Linked DNA regions of Homo sapiens: regions 2 and 3 are each linked to region 1. Evidence: promoter capture Hi-C in human tissues and cell types (Jung and others, 2019). All regions are on one chromosome and are shown on one strand. Each heading gives the region's core, a stretch centred on a gene start or on the middle of the fragment in contact. The rest is flanking DNA. Distances are from core to core; before and after follow the strand shown.

What was found. The method cuts DNA at HindIII sites, captures the fragments that hold promoters and counts their contacts. A contact is called where the count stands out against the background at its distance.
Region 2: a contact is called between the fragment with the promoter of GLI4 here and the fragment with the promoter of EEF1D in region 1, in 1 of the 25 tissues and cell types used here (H1 embryonic stem cells).
Region 3: a fragment that was not itself captured here is called in contact with the fragment with the promoter of EEF1D in region 1 in 1 of the 25 tissues and cell types used here (dorsolateral prefrontal cortex).

Annotation. Positions count from the first base shown.
Region 1 is chr8:143,596,064-143,598,757 of GRCh38, reverse strand. It overlaps EEF1D (eukaryotic translation elongation factor 1 delta), which reads left to right and starts at 1,343. Exons shown (of 10, transcript NM_001130053.5): 1 at 1,343-1,410. It overlaps TIGD5 (tigger transposable element derived 5), which reads right to left and starts at 927. Exons shown (of 1, transcript NM_032862.5): 1 at 1-927. The coding sequence starts at 854. RefSeq lists an enhancer at 2,096-2,694. The HindIII fragment of the contact is 45,525 bases long and covers 1-2,694 here.
Region 2 is chr8:143,266,108-143,268,801 of GRCh38, reverse strand. It overlaps GLI4 (GLI family zinc finger 4), which reads right to left and starts at 1,357. Exons shown (of 4, transcript NM_138465.4): 1 at 1,318-1,357. RefSeq lists an enhancer at 1-341 and silencers at 902-1,021, 1,182-1,891. The HindIII fragment of the contact is 9,983 bases long and covers 1-2,694 here.
Region 3 is chr8:143,909,213-143,911,906 of GRCh38, reverse strand. No RefSeq gene overlaps it. Among named protein-coding and RNA genes, the nearest start is that of PLEC, 29 kb to the left of the region's middle. The HindIII fragment of the contact is 9,347 bases long and covers 1-2,694 here.

The DNA of each region.
Region 1 (2,694 bases), core at 94-2,593:
CCGGTCAGGTTTGCGGCCAGCAGCACCGTTACGCGGTCGCCCCGCCAGCGCCGGCCACAGCCCCCCGCCCCGGGGTCCCCTGCGCCCGGGGGCGCAGCCTGCTCCGGAAGCAGCTTCCAGTAGAGGCCGGTGACGCTGGCGCTGTAAATCTGCTCGTCCCCGTAGCCGCCCTCGGCCGGGGGCGGCGGGGCCGGGGCGCGGTCGGGCAGGGGGCCGGCGCCGGAGGGCAGCGCGGGCTCCTCCTTGACGGGCGGGCCGGGCGCGGGGCTCGGGGCTGGGGGCCCGGCCTCGCCGTAGAAGCGCTGGCTGGAGATGCCGTGGCGCTTCTGCCAGCGCCAGAACCAGCCGTGGCTGGCCTTGAAGGTGCACTCGGGCCCGTAGATCTGGCGCGCGAAGGCCTCGGCCTGCGCCTGGATGAGCGGGCCAGACAGCGGCACCCCGTGCTGGCGCAGCGCCAGGAACCAGGCGTACACGGCGCGGTCGATCTCCTCCTCGTTGGCCAGCCGCATCTTCTTGCGCTGAGTGCCCACCTCACCGCCCAGCTGCTCCAGGAACCAGCGCAGCTTGGGCTCGTCCTTGAGCCAGCCGCGCAGCGTCCCGCCCGGCACGCCGAAGTCGCGGCACACACTGGCCTGCCGCTCGCCGCCCTTGACGCGCTCGATGGCCTGCAGCTTGTCCTTGATGGAGTAGGCCTTGCGGAAGGCCATCTTCACGGCCACGCGGGGCCGCGGCCCGGGCGCGGGGGGCGGCGGCCGTGCAGCGGGGACGGGGGCTGGGGCGGGCGCGGGGGGCCCGGGCAGGGGACGGCGGCCGCGGCGCGGTACCGGGCCGGCCGGGGGGCCCGCGGGGTACATGGCTGCGGCGGGGGGGACCCGGGCCGCGCGGGTCGCGGGAGCCACACGCCCAGCCGCTCGGGGCGGGGCACTCGGGGGCGGGGCCGCACGGGTCCCTCCCCTTTGTCCCGCAGCTTGGCGGGCGCACGCGCGCTGACCTAGCCCGGCCCGGCCCCGCCCCGCGCCTGCGCGCTGGCCGCCTCGTGCGTCACTCGGCGCTTGCCGGCTGCCGGACCCGCCCCCACCGGCGACACCACTGGCCGCGAAGCGCAGGGGGGGCGCGCGCGCTGCCGCCCGTTCCCAGCACTTGTGCAGACTCCTCCGGGGAAGAGCGGCCTCCGCGGTCATCTCCAACGGAATTCTGCCTTTGAAGTGTCGGGGCACGGCGCGTCGAGGGTCCTGGCGGCCAGGCGGGGCGTGTGCAAGGGTCGCGTCCCCCCCCCGGGCCCCCGGCCCGTGGCTCTTGGTAGAGCCCAGTGCTTCATTTCCCGTGCGCGGCCCGGGCGGCCCTCCCTTTCATCAGTCTTCCCGCGTCCGCCGATTCCTCCTCCTTGGTCGCCGCGTCCTTGGCTGGCGTGTGAGTACCGCGGCCCCCGCCGGAAGGAGTCGGGCGCGACAGAGACGCCCGAGGGGCCGGGAGGGCGGGCGGCCCGGGCTGCGCCAGAAGCTCGCGCCGTTAGGGACTGAGGCACAAGTGCGCCAGCGCGGGCTTAGGGGCCGTGGGCCAAGTGCGGCACTTGGGGCGAGCGCAGAGAGGCGGGGCGACGGAGGCCACGTGGCCGGCTTGGAGGGCGTCCGCGGGACGGGGGCGCCGGGAGCACTGTCTCACGGCGCATCCCGGTCGTGGAAGCCCCTCGGCCAGGCTGCTGGGGCCTAAGGCCTGTGTTTGCTGCCGTCTCCGTGGGAGACCAGACATCTGCCCCAGCTGTTTCTCTGGCCTGCAGACCTTCGTACACCACGTCTTTGTCAAGCACCAGTTACTGCACGCATCAGCTGAGCACGGAGGGGATAGGCACGGACGCAACACTTTTGGAACTTAGACGCTAGTGAGCACGGAAAGGAATAAGCCTGTACTGTGACTGGGTCAAAATTTCTGTCTCTTGATTTGGATAGGGTGGTCGGGCAGTCTCTGAAGGGGGCGGGGATGCTGTTGCTAAGAAGTAGTACTTTCAGAGGCTTTAAGTGGAAGGAAGAAGGCAAAGGGGGCGGAGTGGGTTGGGGACCTGATGAGACGTCAGGATTGGTTTCCAGAATGAAGGACCGCCTGGCAGCAGAAGAACTGTGTAGCTAAACTTGGGGTTGTCCCTGCCCGACAGGGCGGGGTGCTTCTTAAGTTGACACTGCCTGCGGCTCACCTCCCAGGGAGGCAGGCCAGGCCATCTCACCTGAGCAGCCTCCTTCTACAGCTCCGCCCACCCCGTCATCTGGACCCCATGAGCCTTAAGCAGCTGGCTCGCAGGCAGTTGGTTACTTCCGGAGCCCGTGTGTGCCCAGCCCCGTTCTGGGGGTGGGGGATGCAGCTGAGGGGCTGGGCAGGTGTGGAAGGAGCCCCCGAGCGTCCTCTGAGGAAGTAGACGCTCACCTTCGCCTTCTCACCACATGCCTCAGGCCCAGCCAGGCTCCTAGACCTGCCTCTGTAGAGGCTTTCTGGGCGCAGTGCCAATCCTGTGAGACAGCAGCATCTCCCCTGGGCTGCTGCAGGGTTCACACGCAGTCAGTGCTGGCAGAGTGAGCGCCCAGCCGACAGAGCCCCCGCTGCCTCCCGCCTCCTCTGGAGGACTAGGCCCTCTGGGCTTTGCTCCCGGGTTGCTGGGTGAGGCTGCAAGGTTTAGCACAGGTGGGCACACGTGCTTGATGATGG
Region 2 (2,694 bases), core at 108-2,607, 330 kb after region 1:
CCACCGCCTGGGCGGCACAGCAGACGCCTGTGGGGGCTGAAGCGAAGCTCCTGTCCCAGCAGAGGCTCTGGCATCTCCTTCCAGCCCGTGGCATCACCCCTCCCCCAGAGAAAGGCATAGGGAGTCTTCCAGAAAAACCTCAGCTGCTGGCCCTGTGGGAGGGCTGAAAACCGAACCATGCCTGCTGCGCATGAGTGTTTTGGAGGAAATCTTAATAAGGTTTTTCCCGAACAGCAGAGAAGAGACGTTTCCAGAGGGCAACTCTCTTCCTCAGACCCTACAGAGCCCTCAGAGACTGCAGGCTGGAATCCCCTAGTCCAGCCCTGCAGCAGCACTGGGAGACTCACTCAGGGCTCCAAGACACTTCTTAGTTTACTTTGCAAAAACGGCTTGAGTCCAATGTGAAAAGTGACTTTTCTTTCATACTGTGATAGAGTAGGAACTCCTAATCTGGGGCAGGGAGTGAAGAAAGGAACGGGAAAAGAGGACAAAAGTTAACGGATACTCAGATCTAAGAACAGCAGACAGTGCCTGCTTCGAGGAAGTGGGAGAGGCAGCTCCCACACGGCCGCCACCCCAGTGCCCGGCTTCTGGGCCAGCCTCCATCCCCTAATGATGGGAAGGGTCAGGTCACCAGGTAGGTGGCCACTGGGTGCAGGTCCTCCACCCTGAAGTCACATCTCAAGTTACTTAGTTAACTTACTGGGGACACCTGGTAAAAGGGCCTGCTCGATCACCCCGACCCTGGCTTGGCCCCCAGGACTGAGCAGAGGCGACCATCACAGCGTGGACGCCCCTTCACCCCCAGGGACGCACAAACTCTGAGCTCCAGACTGAAGGGGGAAGGGCACTCCTGCCAGCGGCTCGGGGGAAGCATCCTCTGCCCCTCTGTTCCCAGCCCCGTGGGAGCGGACCCAATCGCCGGGAGCTCGGCACAGAGCGCGTCCGCCCGGCGGTGCGGCGCTGGGGTCCGGCGGCTCCTCGCTCCGGAGCGGCGGGACCTCCGGGCCTCAGTTTCCCATCTGCAGAGTGGCGATGACGACAGCTGCCGTCACTGGGTGCCTGGGAAAGGCGCCCTGCGAACGGACACCCGCTATCGCCAGGGCCGCTGGGCGGGGCGGTCCGCTGCTGCTCCGCGACCCCCAGGAGCCCACCCCGCTCCCCGGGCTTGGCCCAAGGCCAAGGTCACGGCGAGCGGCGGCTGCAAGGGCCGCACGGCCCGGCTGGGCAGGGCTGCACCGCGGAGTACGGCGCACGAGCTCGGACTGGGCTGGTCCCAGGCACCCGGAGCCGCCGCCGCCGCCCGCGCCCACTCACCTTCCGAGCGGGAGGAGGACGCCGCGCGCCGGACGGAAGTGTCCGGCCCCGCCCCACTCCGCCCGGCCGGCGCGCACTTCCGGGACGCTCTGGGCCCCGGGAGGACCGCACGCCTCGGTGGCCGTGTGGGGGCGGGGCCGGGAGCGAAGAGGAGGCCTTTCCCCGCCCCTCCCCTCGTGGGCTGCGCCCGCGCGTGGCTTTCGCGTACACGCTGGCCCGGATCCCGCCCGCGCCTGCAAAGCGCCCGGGCGCGGGGAGCGGCGCTGCGTGGGGCGCAGAAGCCGGCGCCTCGGAGCCTCCTTCCCGACGCCGGCCCTGCACCGCCCGGGGAGCCAGCGCGGGGCCGGGCTTCGGGAGATGACGGCGCCGTCCCCACGCTGCCCGCGGCCCCTCCGTGCACTCCAGGCCTCCGGGGGTCCTCGGCTGGAGTTGCTTCCACGTTCAGCTCGCGAGTCCCCCCCGCCGCCCTCTTGGGTTCCCTCCTCGGGATGTGTCCGCAGCGATGGTCACCGGCGGCCGGGAACCGCTGCGAGACGCGCGACCTCCCGCTCCCCTCGCGGGGGCCCCAGCGCCCTCGATTCTGCCTGCTTTCCAGGGGCGTCCCCGGGAGCCTGAGGAGGATGTTACAGGTTCCCCAAAGCCCCTTCATGGACTCCTTCCTCATTTTCCTCTTGTTCAGCCACAGTTTCTCCCTCAGTTCTGTGCTTACGACCTGAAAAGAGAAAATTGTCACTTTCTGGGAAAAATAAACGGCCGGGGAGGGTTCTTTGACCGTTTTGAGCAGGGGTGCAGAGAGCCGAGGCGAGGGGACCCCTGAGCTGGAGGGGCACGCGGAGCAGAGGGCGGGGGGGCCTGCAGACGGGCAACAGCTGCCAGGGTGGACGCTCAGGGCTGTGTGGGTGGAGGAGCCCCCAGGCTGATAATATGTAAAAATCTCTAAACTCTACCGCAAGAAAACAAACATTCCAGTTAGAAAATTGGCAAGAGCCGCAACAGACGTTTGACCGAAGAGGGCACAGGGATGGCAATAGGCTCGGGAAGGGATGGCTGTCAGGGAAGGGCCGGCCAGCATCGCGGTGGGTGCCACTGCACACTTGCCAGGTGGCTCAGGTAAAAACTGCTAACAAGTGCCAAGCATCACTGAGGTCGCGGAGCAGCTTGGGACATCGCCAGTGGTAAGGCAAAGTGGTGCTGCCATTCTAGAAATTGGCTTGGTAGTTTCTTAAAAAGTTATAAGTAGCGCCGGGCGCAGTGGCTCACGCCTGTAATCCCAGCACTTTGGGACACTGAAGTGGGTGGATCACCAGAGGTGGGGAGTTTGAGACCAGCCTGACCAACAGGGAGAAACCCCATCTCTACTAAAAATATAAAAAAGCT
Region 3 (2,694 bases), core at 109-2,608, 310 kb before region 1:
CAGTCTACCCAGCTCTTGTAGGGACCTGACCAGCAAATTAAGTGGGAAGATGGTGGCCATCACCCATGCACCCTTTAGGCATCTGCGGTGTTGCTGACGCCGCCGTTTTGACCAGGAGGTTGTATTGTTTTATTTCCTTGGCTGGAGCTGGGGGTAGTTTCTAAGGTTTCCATTTGGTCTTTCCTACTACAGTGATTTTTACTCCATGGGCCAAAAAGCCCATGTGAGGATTTGCTGTTGAGCATGCCAGTTCCAATTGCACGTTCCTGGGCTGGGAAATGATGGGCTGAGGCCTGGGCCAGGACTCCAGGTCCTTCCTGACCCCATATTCCCTACCCAGATGGGAGCCTCTGAGGGTGCTTTGCGCCCCAGGTGTCAGCGTCCACTCAGACCCTGATCTGGGCGTCTTCCTCTCCCCAGGGCACAGTTGTCCAGATAAGCATCTTTGGGTCCCTGGAGGGACTGGGGGGTCACTGCTGTCCACACTTGGAGGCGTGAGGCCTTTCACAAGGGGACCTGGCCGCTCTTTCCATTTGTGGGCTCTGGCTCTGAGAACTGGCTGACATAAGGAAACAAAGCAAGTGGTTGTGTTTTCCATCAGAGCAGTGGGCCTGGACTCACTCACTCGTTTTAAAATTTGTGGGTGCCGCGTGCTGAGCCAGTGTCCTCCGAGTGTGCCCCGGGACCACCTGGGAGCTTGGAAGGGGCAGAGCCTTGGCCGCGGCACAGACCAACTGAGTCAGAAATCCTGGGCCTGGGGCTCAGCCAGCTGTGCTTTAAGGAGCCCTCCAGGGGCTGCCATGTGCCTGAGTGTGAGAACCAGTGTAGTGAGCAGCTCCTTGCAGGCTGCCCATCTGCGTCTCCTGTCAGACTGTGGCGCTCCATGAGCCAGCTTCATGGGCCCCCATGGTCAGGGTCTTCTGGCCGCTGCCCCCACCTTCCCTCCCGCTGCCAGCACGTCTCAACAGGTGGGAGCTCCAGCGGCTGCACTGCCATTGGTGCCAGGCTGACAGCATCGCCAGGCAGTCGGTGGTGTTCTGACCAACTGTGGCATCTGTGCGCCAGGACCACGTCTGCGCCCCCCCATCCCAGGCAGGCTCCCCAGGGCGGTGCCTCAGTTACACATGGTTTCTGGAGAATTCTCAGAAAAGGGGTGCAACAAGTGGGGAGGGCAAGGAGCTGGCAAAGGGGGCTGGAGCCGTAGCCCTGCCCCACGGACATCTGAGAGGCAAGGGCACAGCTCAGAGGCTCTGACTCCTGCCCACACGTGGGTCTGAGCTGCCTGTGGGGTGGCACGTGGTCCTCAGGCATCTCTGAATGAGCAGCTCTTGTCAGCCAAGGGCAGTGTTCTGGAGGAGGACACAGGTGAGCGTCTGCAGCAGCTGGGGAGGGGAACAAGGACACCCAAGGGGATCTTGGAGGATCGGCCACGGCAGCTGCCTTCACGGTGGCAGCTCCTCAGTAGCAGCGCAGACGGACCGAGAGACCCTTGAAAACTCCTCCCACGTAAATCCGGGTAAAACTTAAATAGCTTCTCGGGTGCATTCTGACGTTACCAAAAAGACAAGGAAACCACCAGGGGTGAAAGAGAAAGGAGGGTCCTCAGTGCAGCGGCTGAGCTGACGCTTCCCGAGGAATTTGCTGATCCTGGAAGGCTGAAGCCTCGGGTTTTAAAGGTCCTCAGGAACAGGAGGCCGGGATGCGGGCCGTACAGCCAGAGGCCTCTGTGGCATCCGGATCCTCAAAGGGCTGCACCCAGCGAGAAAGCGGGTTCTCCGACGATCCAGCCACAGAAGGGAAACACTGGATCCTGCCTGGGCTCTGACAGGAAAGCGTTTCCACTGAGCTTTACAATTTCAGGCCATCCCCCTGTAGGGTCTGGAGAACCCCATGTGGAGGAATTACATCACCATGGCCCCAGGTTGGTTGTTGCCTGGTACCTGGTATGAGCCAATATAATCTTATCTGGAGGTCTTGCCCCCAACCAAGGCTTCCCAGGCTTCAGATAAAAGACCTCGGGCTTTCCAACATGACGCAGTCAAAAGTTACAAGACGCATGGAAACGAGCATCATGAACAAGGGCAGAACTGGAAGCTGAGGGACGCAGGATACTGGAATTATTCAATAAAGAATACACAGTGAGTATGTTTGAAATGTTTATAACACAACAAATCCATAATGTGAGAAGTAAAATTCTAGCTAAAAAGAGCAAGAAGATTTTAAAGAAATTTGATAGAATTTCTAGAAATGAAACATATACTAATAATATTTAAAGCTCAATGGACTAAACAGCAGACGAATCATAGTTGAAGAATTGGTGAATTAAAGGATAGATCTAAAGAAATTACTCAGAATTTATCCCAGAGATGGGAAACAGGAAAGAGAGGTTAGGAGGCAGAACAGAAGACATCTAGCATCAGTCCAGCTGGGGTTCTATAAGAAGATCCTGGAATAAGGTGAGGACGTTTTGAAGAAATAGTGGCTGATAATTGTTTTCCAAATAGATGAAAAACATGAACCATTTATCCAACAGGCACAGTAAAACCCAGGTATGGCAAATAAAACATCTACATCAAAACACATTGTAGTAAAATTGCGGAAAACCGAAAACCAAAAAAGAAAAAAAAATTAAAGCAGCTAGAGAGAAAAGACAGATTCCCTACGAAAGGATAATGGACACAACCCATTAGCAAA